2 separate regions of the Homo sapiens genome follow, and region 2 is linked to region 1. Evidence: promoter capture Hi-C in 16 types of primary human blood cells and fetal thymus (Javierre and others, 2016). All regions are on one chromosome and are shown on one strand. The core of a region is centred on a gene start or on the middle of the fragment in contact, and the rest is flanking DNA. Distances in the headings are between cores, read along the strand shown.

The links. Contacts are between HindIII fragments. The CHiCAGO score rates a contact against its expected background, and 5 or more counts as called.
Region 2: a fragment that was not itself captured here is called in contact with the fragment with the promoter of CAMSAP2 in region 1 in 5 of 17 cell types (non-activated CD4 T cells, activated CD4 T cells, M2 macrophages and 2 more); the score reaches 7.0 in non-activated CD4 T cells.

The regions. Positions count from the first base shown.
Region 1 is chr1:200,736,437-200,743,325 of GRCh38, forward strand. CAMSAP2 (calmodulin regulated spectrin associated protein family member 2) reads left to right here and starts at 2,457. Exons shown (of 17, transcript NM_203459.4): 1 at 2,457-3,530. The coding sequence starts at 3,392. RefSeq lists an enhancer at 2,087-2,166 and silencers at 2,807-3,166, 3,197-3,266. The HindIII fragment of the contact is 5,817 bases long and covers 1-5,225 here.
Region 2 is chr1:200,611,257-200,617,769 of GRCh38, forward strand. It overlaps KIF14 (kinesin family member 14), which reads right to left. Exons shown (of 30, transcript NM_014875.3): 2 at 6,356-6,513; 3 at 4,099-4,353; 4 at 3,062-3,149. Among named protein-coding and RNA genes, the nearest start is that of KIF14, 6.2 kb to the right of the region's middle. The HindIII fragment of the contact is 3,078 bases long and covers 1-3,035 here.

The DNA.
Region 1 (6,889 bases), core at 1,207-3,706:
AAAATGCTGGGATTACAGGCATGAGCCATTGTGCTTGGCCCCTGACTGCACTTTATATCTCTTACAGCACTTATCACTTTTACATTGTATTATAAATTTATTTATGTACATGTTAGCCTCCATAATGCGGAAAGAGAGCAGGCACAGGGAAAAGTGCCAGAGGAGTGGAGCCAGAAGACCTGTGCTTGAATTTGAAGCCAGACTCAGATATGAATCAACCATGAAATCTTGGCCATGCCACTTAATCTTTGCAATTCTCAGTCCTGCATCTAGAATTGGAAGACAATAATAATTCCTACTTCATAAAATAGATATGGAAATTAGTTATCATATGAACATGCTTTGTGAGTTGTTATCTATCTGTTAATTTTATTAACCTCCATGTGATACAGCAAAGGGCCTTCCTTGCCCATGAGAAAAACCCTATTAATATTAATTAAATTATTGGAAAAATTACATCAACCACCCTCTGGCATATTATTATTTTCAAATTCTTTTCATATCCCACATTGTTAGCAAGCCTCATCTGTTGTGTCCTACTAGGTTTAAGGAGGAGTGTTTACAGGGATTAAACAGAAACAAAGGGACCTGCTTTTTGATGGAGCTGCCCTCTGCCTTTACTAGTTGTGCAGAATAAGAGTAATTAATTTTTTTTTCTGAGCCTTAGTTTTCTCATCTGTATAATGAAGATAATACAGGATTTTATAATGATTAAAATTAGATAATGCTAGCGCTTTGGGAGGCTGAGGTGGGAGGATCCCTTGAGTCCAGGAGTTTGAGACTAGCCTGGGCAACATAGGGAGACCTCATCTCTACAAAAAATAAACAAAATTAGCTGGGTGTGGTGATGTGTGCCTGTAATCCCAGCTATATGGGAGTCTGAGATGGGAGGATTGCTTGAGCCTGGGAGGTTGAGACTGCAGTGAGCTGTGATTTTGCCATTGTATTCCAGCCAGGGCAACAAAGCAAGACCCTGTCTCAAAAAATAATAATAATAGGCTGGGCGCAGTGGCTCACATCTGTAATCCCAGCGCTTTGGAAGGCTGAGGTTGGCGGATCACCTGAGGTCAGGAGTTCGAGAGCAGCCTGGTCAACATGGTGAAACCCCATCTCTACTAAATACACAAAAAATCAGCTGGGCGTGGTGGTGCGCGCCTGTAGTCCCAGCTACTCAGGAGGCTGAGGCAGGAGAATCGCTTGAGCCCTAAAGGTGGAGATTGCACTGAGCTGAGATCTTGCCACCACTCTCCAGCCTGGGCGACTTAACAAGACTCCGTCTCAATAATAATAATAATAACAACAACAATCACTTAAAAATAAAATTAGATAATGTATTAAAATGAGACGTGAGGAGCTAGTGATTTAAGTAAGCTCAGTATGTGTTAACTTTGATAATATTCACATGTAGTCCATTAATTGAGCAATTATACTATGGGGCTGGGCACCGTATAGCTGCTGGAGATATACCCTGTCATCATGTCATCAATGGGAAAAACCGACAAGTAACTGATTATTGCCACACGATGTGACAGATGCTACGACAGAAATAAGAACAGGGTGCTCCGGGAACAACAGGGGAGGCACCTGTGTGACAGCCCTGACTGGAAAGTTGTCAGCAGCTGTCAGGGAAGGCTTCATGGAGGAAGTGACTACTGTGGAGTTTGAAGGTGCAGTAGGAGTAAGCTGGGTGGACAGAGGAACCACCCTGAGCAAGGAGGTAGAGATCTGAGAAGGCATGCTCATTGAAGAAAATAGAGAGCAGTTCTGACAAAATGAAGCTATAAAGGCCTGTAGATGCCAGATCACAAAGGGCATTAGCTTGTTTTGTGAAAGAATTTATGCTCTTTTCTGAGAGAATGGGGAGGCATTGTTGGACGTGTGCCCTCTCAGAGATAAAATTTAAGTGGAGAGCACTGAGTTAAGAAAATATCTCGATATCATGAAATTAACACAGGTTTGGAGCCCCCACAGATCCTCAATCCTGGTTAAGTTCCATGTATGACCTAATCAACTCCACCTCTCTTTCGTGGACAATCAGCAATGACATCTACCTCTCAGGATTATTGCGAGGGCTAAATGAGATAGTGCAGGTCAAGTTCGCTGCAAAGTGTGTGTCACATAATGAACATTTTAAGTAAATATCAACTCTTTTCGATGAAGCACTGTGTAAGTAGAATACGAAAGCTATTGCCAGGCCTCTCCCTCCTCCCTCCCTTCCTTTTCCTCTCTCAGCAGTGCAGGCAGCAGCAGCCAAAAGCCAGGGACGTGGAGGATGTCCACTGAAGCGAGTACTCCAGAGCGATGATTAAAAGGCAGCCGCCCCGAATCCCGGGCGCGGGCGGGGAGCGAGGCTGGGCATGCTCAGTGGGCCGGAGACGGGAGGGAAGCGGGGAGGGGGCGGGGGCGGGGGCGGGGGTTGGGGGGGGTGGGTCGGAGCCGCGCGAAGGCGCATGCTCAGTCTCCGCATCTGCTCCTTCATCCAGTGCCGCAGCCGGAAAACCGCAGCGGCGGCGGCGGCGGCTGAGGGGGAACGATCCAGCGAGCTGCAGAAAGGGGGGCAGGAAAAAATTACAAGGACATTACTGATAAGACAGGAACTGAGAGCTTGGGATTCGCGGCCTCTCCCCGGCCACCACCTTCGCCGTCAGCAAGGGAGGAAGACCCGGGAGACGGCAGCGGCGACGGCGGCAGGGGAAGGAGGAGACGGCGACGGGAGGGAGCACAGAGGAGGGGACGGGCCGGCGGCGGCCTGTGAGCCGCAGTGATTTTGACGTTTTCCGCTGCTGCGTCTCCGGCGGGCAGGGGCCGGGCTGCGCTGGGTGGGCCAGCTCGCCCCGCGCTTCCCCCTCGTCCTGCTCGTCCCTCCGCCCACCCGGGGCCTGAGGGGTCTCCCCGCTCCGAGGGAAGGGGAGAGGGAGGCGAGGGCGTGCGGGCATCGCGATGGCGGGGACATTTTCCACAACGTGATTGTTGAAGGCTCCCCCCATCCCCCCTCCCTTAAAATTCCGGGCCCTTCCAGCCTCCACCCTCCCCCAAGCCCGTGTGACTAAACCGAGACAAAGGGGAGGCGGCCTCGCTCACACGCGGGCTCGCGGGGCGGGTGGCTCGGAGGGGCGCGGGCACGGGGCGGACCTCGCGCGGACGGACGGACGGAGACGGCGCCGCCACATTCCTATGCCCGGGAGCGGCGGCGGCGGCGGCGGCGGCTCCCGCGGGAGGCGGCAGGCGCGCGGCGCGGACAGCTGAGCTTCTCCTCCGTCGGCGCCCGGGCGGACATCGCCCGGGCCCCGATGGTTTGAGCTTGCTTCTCCCTCCCTCCCGACCCCCGTGGTGGCGAGGCCACGCCATGTGAAGGTTAGGGCCGGGACATCCCGAGGAGCCGCGGTGAAAGATGGGGGATGCTGCAGACCCCAGGGAGATGAGAAAGACGTTCATTGTTCCAGCCATCAAGCCTTTTGACCACTATGATTTCTCCAGGGCCAAAATCGCCTGCAATCTGGCCTGGCTGGTGGCCAAAGCCTTTGGGACAGGTTAGTGGTGTCACCCTTTCCCTCCCCTCTTCCTCCTGATGTGGTCCACATCTCGGTTTTTGTTCCCGATTCTCGAATCCCTCCCTCCCCGTGCCTGTCTTCTCGTACAGGTTAAGGGAGATGATGGGAGGCTAGGAAGAGAAAGAAAGGAGAAATAAGGAAAGCAGGTTTGGTCTTCAATGAAGGGCACGTGAATGGTCAGGTGGGATTTGGCCAGATTCCTTTTATTGGATGGCAAAATGTCCCCCCCATCCCCCAGTGAGCAATTTTATGTTTTTACATAGAGTGGTTTTGATTTGTGGTATTTTCTTCATTGTGTTGCGTACATTTCTGCCTCAGTCATAATTGTGATTACACCACCAAGAAATCTGAGTTGGTTTCTTTATTATTGCAAGAAGGTGGATGGTGCATAGTACTATATTGATTTTGACATTTGTAATGATGGCTGCTATTCAGGCTCCGTTGGATGTAAGGTGGCCTGTGTCGAGTGCAGTATTAATTTTTGTTGTCATTCTTTAAGGCTGTATCAGCCTTCTGCACGCATGTTAAGTTCTTATTAAATCAGTTATTTAAAACCAGCGTTCAGTTTGCTGACTGTAGGGTGCAGTTTTCATTTCATATTATCAGTGAGGCATATTCTTTTTTCCAAATGTATTTTGGCTTCATAAATTAAAAGAAACAAAAACTCCCTACTTTGGGAAGTTTTTTAATAGATGAGTTTTTCGAAGGCGTGTGCTGTTGACACAGAAATTGTATAGTACAGTAGCAGTTAAACACTCCCTCCATAACCCAGTCTTTGCAAAATAACAGGAAAAGGGCCTCCCGTTATGATTCTTTAGTGTTGCTTTAGGAGCCCATGTTGTGAAATGTTAAAAAAATTAGAGAGCTGCTTTTCATTGGAAGATGCTTCTGTAATTTGGTAACTTTTAAGAGTAATTTTACAAGATTTCTGTTCCCTAGTTAATGAAGTTTAGATATATGAAATATTTGTTGAAAAGTTCCCTAGTACTCACAAATTTCCACATGTTAAATATAGGGTTTTTCAGGGGGAGGGTGACTAATTTCCAATTTTAGGACTATGTAATGTTTTGGTAAATGGTTTAGTTCAGTTTTACTGCTTAAACTTACACAGCTGAGTATTTTCAGGACTTACACATCCTACTTAAATAGCAGATTAATCTCAGTGTTTGGAAAATGATTTGAATTTGTTTTTGGGGAAACTTGACATTGATGTGATTTTATGTTTATGGCAGCCTTAATTTTACTTGAATTTTTATGCTTTGATATTAAGCTGGCATCAGGAATAAATATAGTAAATCCTTTTCAAATTATTTAAATTTTAAACATCTCTTTGAAATTGAATGTCTAGCGTAACTCATAGGAAGAAACACAAAGTGTTACTGCCTTTATATAAAAACATTCTGGCACCACTGATATAAGCAGTGAGAATAATAGATGTATTTTGGTTTTAACTTAAGCAGCACACTGAAGCCGGTATCTATTTGGATGGCAAATCAAGGCTATTTAAGTGCTTAGAAAACATGGAAAGAGGGAAATTTACATAGTCACCTATGTGGAAAAGTAGTATGTATAAAGTGGAAGGCAAAGGGAATAAGAGAAATATTTTCTTTCCATCTGGAACTGAGAGGATACTTATAGGATACAGATATCAAAATTTTGCCATGCATACACAAAAGCTTCCAGCTAGAAAATGGCCTACTTTCTGGGTATGTGTCAGGCAGGTTCGTAGATTCTAGACCACTTGAACATATTGAACACACCTGAAGAAGAAAGGAAATGAAGGGAATCTAGTATCAGTGGAATCTGATGTCTGCCAGGCACTCTGCTGGATGCTTTGCAGTAAGTTGTACGTTAGAGATTGATAACAAGTCTCTGATGTAGGTAGTGTGTTCCCCATTTAAAAAATAGGAGGAAATCAGTGCATAGAGAGGTTAACTTTCCTACTATCACAGTGTTAGTAAGTGGCAGAAGTGAGTTTTGATTTGAGGTCTGACTCAAAAGGGTAAAGGTATTGGTGGAGGTGGAACACTGCTGTTAGATACCCAGCACTCTGAATACATTACTTCATTTATTCCTGCAGCAACCCTGTAGATACTGTTCTCATTTTGCAGATAAGGTAACTGGCTCACAGATTAATTTGCACAAGATTAAACATCTGGCAAGTGATGTGTTCTGCATGTCTGACTCTGAAGCCTTTGCTTATTACTCTATACCGTTCTGCAGAGTAACCGTTTTATCTGCAGGTGTGAAAAATGTGCACATAGTACATATTGAAGTCTAATTTTTTCTTTAAAAATTGTACAAATCTTAATTCATTTTCAGATAGATGATATTGTTGGCTATTACATTTGCCTTGGCAGCAGTTGGAATGGATGAAAAGACCATATTCAAATGGGATGAAAAACAAGTTTAGAAGACCTTGAGTGACTTAGTAACAATATATTAATACATTATTAAGAATGTTATGTTTGTACATTTTGTTTATTCTTTATCAACAGTCTTTCAAAACAAATTTATATGGAGTGAATAGAAAAAAATTAGGAATTTTTTTGATGTAAATATTCTTTATTTGCTGCAGATACACTTATGCAGGAAAGGTTAATAGATAGCATATTTCAAAGGTATTACCTAATTATATTTAGTTGTTCAAAAAATCAGCCCAGCTTTCAATATGATTTACTAAAATCACTCCTTTAACAATGACTTACAGGGTCTTCAGGCACTGATTTGGTGTTTTCTATTAGAAACTTTCTAACTTTTGATGTACTGAAAAAGTAGTCAATTTTATAACCATATGTTGTAAAAGTCATTTAAAATGATAGCTAGAAATGTGAGCATAGAATGAAGTAATTGAACTTAAAAAAAAAACACTGATGTTGTAATACCTAGAAAGCAAATATGGAATATTTACTTAATTTGAAGTCTTAGGAGCCTTGAATCATTTTCTTCTCTTTACAGTAGTATTACAAAAGTATTACAAATAGCCCAAATTTTAATAGTTTATTTTGTGGAAGATGCAGATACAGGTTTGATTAAATGAAGAATACATTTTTATAGATGAATTTGAAACACTAAATCGATAATCCAAATTCCAAAGGAGGAAGTAGTTCAACTATCTGTGCCTTTTCTATATTTGAAGAGCTTAACCCATTTAAGCAAAGATTTTACAGAATTTTCTTTAAATGTTCTGTTCTCTTAAATCCTTTGGGGGAAATGGTAGATGCAAAACCTCTTGTGACACTCTTACTAAACTCTTGAATTTGGAATTCAAGGCCCACTTCCTAGTGTCAGTTTATCACTTCAATCTTCTCAACTATTATTCTCCTTTTTATCCCATT
Region 2 (6,513 bases), core at 247-2,746, 130 kb before region 1:
ATATTTATTGTGCCCTACTAGGTACAAAGCACTCTTCTAGGAGCTGTGGGAAAATATGAGATGAACTGGACATAGTTTTTATCCTGAAAAAACTCAGAAGCTAATTGGAGATGCAATACAGTACATGAGTAATACAAGGCAGAATATAGCTGGTGTCATGAGAGAGAAACAAAACACTTCCAAAGAGACCAGGTATAAGGGAACACCAAGTAATTATAAGGTCATTGACAAATGCTATGAACAGGGATGGGGGCTGTCAGAATTCAATAAACACGTAATAATGCTTATTTTATGTAAAATAGTATTTTATGTTATAGAGGCTCCAGGAGGACTTAGAAATGAAAATGTAGTGTGGGAAACAAATTGGAAAAGGTAGCTGGGGCCACACTGGAGAGGTCCTACTTTTTTCTTCTCCTCTGAGGCTCCTGCCATCATGCTCGCTATACCACCTTCTATTACCCCCATCCACATACTATTATTCTCTACCATCCTGGCTAATTCCAAAGTTGATATAACCACATTTAGTTGGGCTCACTATGTGCCAGGCACTCTTCAAAACCTTTTGTATAGATCAACTCATTTAATGCTCACAACAAACCTATGAGAAAGACATTGTCAATATAATCTCTATTTTCTGTTCTGAAACACAGAAAGACATTAAGTAAATTGTTCAAGATCACATTTCTACTGCAGTGATGAAGCTGAGATTCAAATTCAAATAATGTATCTCCAAAGTCCATGCTCTTTTTTTTTTTCTTTTTTTTGAGACAGAGTCTTGCTCTGTCGCCCAGGCTGGAGTACAGTGGCATGATCTCAGCTCAGTGCAATGTCCGCCTCCAGGGTTCAAGCGATTCTCCTACCTCAGCCTCCCGAATAGCTAGGATTACAGGCGCCCACCACCACACCTGGCTAATTTTTGTATTCTTAGTAGAGACAGGGATTCACCATGTTGGCCAGGCTGGTCTCAAACTCCTGACCTCAGGTGATCCGCCTGCCTTGGCCTCCCAAAGTGCTGGGATTACAGGCGTGAGCCACCATGCCTGGCCAACCAGGCTCTTAAGCATTCATTACACTATGTTATTCAATGACATAGTCATTCCACGCAAAATCTGAGCCTCCTAGTCCTTTGAAATCATTCCAAAGACCTTTGCCTCCACTACACTTATCTATGTCTTCCTGGCTTTACCTTCAAATTACTATCCCTCTAAAATCTGGAGAGCCAATAGAGAACTCTGCCCCACAAGCCCACAGCTTTCTCTTATGCCCACTAAACTTGGACTTGAATCATATTTCATCTCATAGTCTCAATACCACCATATTTCTATTGATCCCCATACTCCTCCTATTTTCAATTTAATTACTGGGAATGAGAGGTTGAGGGTAGAAGAAGACAGAGGAGAGGCAGTATATCCACAGAAGAGACAGAACTCATCAATTACTCAAATCTACTTTTCCTCTTGTGATCTCAAAAAATGACATCGATATCTAATCTGGTTGTCCAACCAGAAACATTGATTTCTCTCTCCCTCATCCTCCATTTCCAATAATCAGCAAGTCTTACCAGTTATCCTTACTAAGACAGTCCTTCATGAGCCAAGTTCTGCAGGCCTTTCTAGTTTATTCTCTTTTTTTTTTTTTTTTTTTTTTTTGAGATGGAGTCATGCTCTGTCACCCAGGCTGGAGTGCAGTGGCGCGATCTCGGCTCACTGCAACCTCCATCTCCCTGGTTCAAGCGATTCTCCTGCCTCAGCCTCCCAAGTAGATGGGATTACAGGCATGTGCCACCACACCTGGCTAATTTTTGTATTTTTAGTAGAGACAGGATTTCACCATGTTGGCCAGGCTGGTCTCGAACTCCTGACCTCAGGTGATCTGCCCGCTTCGGCCTCCCAAAGTACTGGGATTACAGGCATGAGCCACCGCACCCAGCCTCTAGTTTCTTCTCTTATCACTTTCCACCCTCAAATTCCATGCTCAAAACACAGTGAACAATTTATAGATTCCCAAAGGCTCCCTACTTTTTTGCTTTCAAATCTTGGTACATGCTGCTCCCTCTCCCTGGAATATCCTTCTCCCCTTCTTTACCAAGCTAATAATGCTATGTATCCTTCAAAAATAAGCTCAGCTGCTCCTTCCTCTGAGAGAATGTCTCCCTCCAACTTTATATGTCCTCACTTACATGTTCTATTAGAGCATCTACTTTAGTTTGTTTAGCATTTAATTGATTGTACTTGGCTGTTAACTTATTTCTCCCACTACACTCCTTTGAATACAGGGACTGGGTCTTTTAACTCCACACCCCTAATCTAGCACAATTTTCCCAATTTCCTTTATCATAAAAAATACTGGAGGAAAAGCATGAAAATTATAAAATCCCAAGCTCTACACCAGACCAACTGACTCAGAACCCCCAGAAGAGATTTTTAGCAAGTGTGTACATACACATACACATGCACATATATGTCCCTGCCAAGAATCCCCGGTGATTCTTATGACCAAGAAAATTTGAGAAAAAAAAAAACTGATCTAACAAGCTGCCTGGCAACAGCAGAATGCTCAGTAAAAGGTAGCTGAATGTGTAAATGAATAAGTGAAATAGGAAGCCAGTACAGCCTATTCAGGTGTAGTAGAGTGGAAAAAGCATGGCTTTTGAAGTCAACTCTGGGTTCAAATCCCAATTTCACTACTCTTTCTGATTCACGTTGTCCAAAAGGTTATGCCTGCTGTCCTTAGTTAAACTGTACACCTATCTGACTACAAACACACGTATAACAGCACATAGCTACCATGTTTGTGAGCCTCTACGTATACACAAAAGTAAAGCAAAAACAAGGGAGAAAAGACAGAAGAGATGACTTCACTATCACTGCCCACTAGGTGAAACTGATTCTGAATTTAGAATTTCCACCCTCCCTCTCCATACCACTGTTCCAAAGAAGAGTGATCTACAAATTAGAACTGATCTTCCATTAAGTATTTCCTTAGTGGCCATGACTGATTTGAACTTGATTTGACTATTTTCTACTCTGAAAAGAAGCTTGCAGGTATTATAAGAACATACCTCTTGGGTTTGTTTTCTGGCTACTTGAGAAAAAAGATCTTCACAAAATCTTGGAATTATTCCTGGTTCTTCACTAAATCCCATCATCCTGAAAAATACATTATGAATAAGGGGGAAATAAAACTAATTCTTTCTTTAAAATTCTTTTTGGGGAAATAGGCTGGGAAGGGAGTAGGAAGCAAGTTCACTGAATCTCATAATTAAGAATCTGGACTCTGGAGTCAAATCTGCCTGAGTCCAAATCTTGACTCCAAGATATTTAACCTCACTAAACTTCAATTTCCTCTACTGTAAAACAGGAATAATACAACTATCTAATTCAGAGAATTGTTGTGAAAGAATATAAGCAAAGTCTTTAGCACAGTGTCTGGAATATAGTAAGAACTCAAATGTTGGGCAACCCGCTTGGGACCCCTCCACGCTGTGGACTGTGGAAGCTCTGTTCTTTCGCTCTTCACAACAAACCTTGCTACAAAAAAAAAAAAAAAAAAAAAAAAAAAAGAACTCAAATGTTAGCTACTGTTAAAATGCTGAGTATTTCTTTCTAGGACAGGTATTATTATCATAGCTACCATTTATCAGATGCCCCTCCACCCTTTTTTCTTAAGAGATGGGGACTAAGTTGCCCAGGCTGGACTCGAACTCCTGCACTTAAGCAATCCTCCTACCTCAGCTTCCCAAGTAGCTGAGACTACAGGTGTGTGCCATCACATCTAGCTTAGATGCCTTACTTTTAATTCTCACCAAAATACTTAAAAGATAACCTCTCTAGGCCTTAGTTTATGTAAAATATATAAAGTACAGTAAAATGGGGCCAATGATAATTACAAGATGAATTGTATCAAGGTAAATGTATAAACTGAAGCCCAGAGGCTAAGTAAATTGCCCAAGTTTGCAGAACTGGTATATAAAATGGATGAGATTTGGGCCAAGATCTGTGTGATTTCAAAACTATATTCTTTCTATCACCCCTATGCCACTTCTCACAAAAGTATATTTAAACACTTCTGGATAATTGCATTTCCAATACAACTTACGTATATGATTTTCCAGAGCCAGTCTGACCATAAGCAAAAAGACAGGTATTGAAGCCTTCGAAGGCTCTTTCTAGGAGTGGTGCTGCTAGCTTCTCATAGACAGTTGTCTGGCTAGCGTAGTGAGGATGACATTCATCAAAAGACCAGAATGAAACATCATAAATAAAATTATAAACTTGTTTCGTGTCAGGGTGTTCCACAGTTATTTCTTTCCCACTCATGAAGACTACCTGGGATGCTTTTTCAATCTTCTCTCTTGAAAGAAGCACAAAGAAAAAAATCAAGTAACTAAAATGATCAAGGGTATTATTCTCACAGAACATAATAAATACCTCAAAACTATTTAAACAATCTTCCAAGGCAAGATAATTCTGTAGTTTTATGTGGAAAATGCAGATAAGCAAACATAATTCTAGTGGGTTTCCAAAATATATTTCCTGAGGCTCCAGTGCCACCAAAGGGAAAATCCCAGATTCCTCCAGAAAACCTATCCTACTTTTACAAGATTTTTTCCTCTTTTTTTTTTCTCTTGAACTATACCTTTTCCCATCCCACCTACTATAATCTACCTATACTCTTCATCCAAATCTACATCTTTATTATACAAATTTGGGGGGGTACCAATCTAAATAAAGCTGGCATAAAATACAAATATCTAATTTTAACAAACTCAGTTGACTGTAAGTTTCAATCATAAGTCTCTCTTGGCTACTAAAGATCTCTCCTCCTTCCTCTAGATTCTCTCCCTTAAAATCATGAATCTTTCTGTATATCCTTTTTCCCTTTGAGACTTAGGTGGAAATCTTTCATTTACTTTAGATCTACAGAAAAACATCATCACTCTTTGTCTGGCTCCAGATATACACTCCCTCCCCGCTCCATCCCTGACTCTGAGACTGCTTTAAATCAGAATTTATTCTGGAAAAAACACCTGCCTCATCAATTTGACAAGTACTCTACCCTGGCCCTGCTTTCAAGGCTTGTCTGATGAGTTTGGAATCAGGCACTTGGTCCCTTACTAAGTTCAGTATAGTCATCCATCTTGCATTTTGTCCCTACCAGCTCTTTCTATTGTTTCTCTTCCTATCATGGTTCTTGAGGCTCTATTAGACATTCCAATTCTCTCAAACCAACTCACCCTCAGTTCTCCCTCTTAATACTAACCCATTTGCACGAAAAAGATTCTACAGTACTGTATAACTTGCCTTTAACTACTGACCCCTTAGGTTCAAACTGGAGGTTCCTGCCCTGATGCAGTGGTCACCAAATCCTCTTCTAACTTGCTTAGATACACAGCTTCAAGTTAAACACTACTAACTCTGTGAAGTTTTTCACTGTCCCTTAAAATATTTTAAACAACTACATTAAAATATTTTAAAACAATTACATTTTGTCACATTCACATTTTGTCATGTCCATCTTTTCCAACCTTATCTTTAATCTGTGTCTTCCCCACCCACAACCACTTTTAGAGAGAGATTTTTTGCCATCAAAATCAAATCTAATGTATCACTGCATTTATAACTACTATATAGTAATCGGAGACAATGATGATGATAATCACCACTCTGGAAAGGGTTTTGAAAGGACCTCTTTAGGGAACCAGTAATTTGTTATGGCTCTTCTTTTTTTTGAGACAGTCTCGTTCTGTCGCCCAGGCTGGAGTGCAGTGGCCTGATGTCAGCTCAATGCAGCCTCTGCCTCCCGGGTTCAAGTGATTCTCCTGCCTCAGCCTCCCGAGTAGCTGGGATTACAGGTGTGCAACACCATGCCCAGCTAATTTTTGTATTTTTAGTAGAGACAGGGTATCACCATATTGGCCAGGCTGGTCTCAAACCCCTGGCCTCAAGTGATCTGCCTGCCTTGACCTCCCAAAGCAATGGGATTACAGGCGTGACCCACCACACCTGGCCTGTTATGGCTCTTTTTAAGGGATAGGTATAACATTCCAGCATATATTGCAGATCTGAAAGCAGATTTCATTAGAGACCTAAGTGACTTATTCAGACTTTTTAAAAGCAATATATCTAGAGAAACTTCAATATACAAAATATGGTGATTCAATTTTTTAATTTTATAGTCAGTGATCAAAAATTATCAACACACACTACAACTAGACCTAAAAGTTCTTTCTATATAAAAGTATTGCCAACAAGTTTGAAGATGCACGAATACACTGACCTTCCAAAGGCAGAGAGGAATTAAAGGTACCTTACATGTAACTGCTTGGCTTTAGATTTTAAAAGGCATCACATACCTCTTGGTGAAAGGTCTTACGCGTACTGCCACTGTCACTTGACTATTCTCTACTTTTAAGGGGTCTTTTCCTGCAGAGGTGTTCTGAACTACAGTTTCTTCTTCGGGAAGAATTGTATTTTCTGCGGATCTTTCCTGTTTATTTGCAAGAAAGGAACT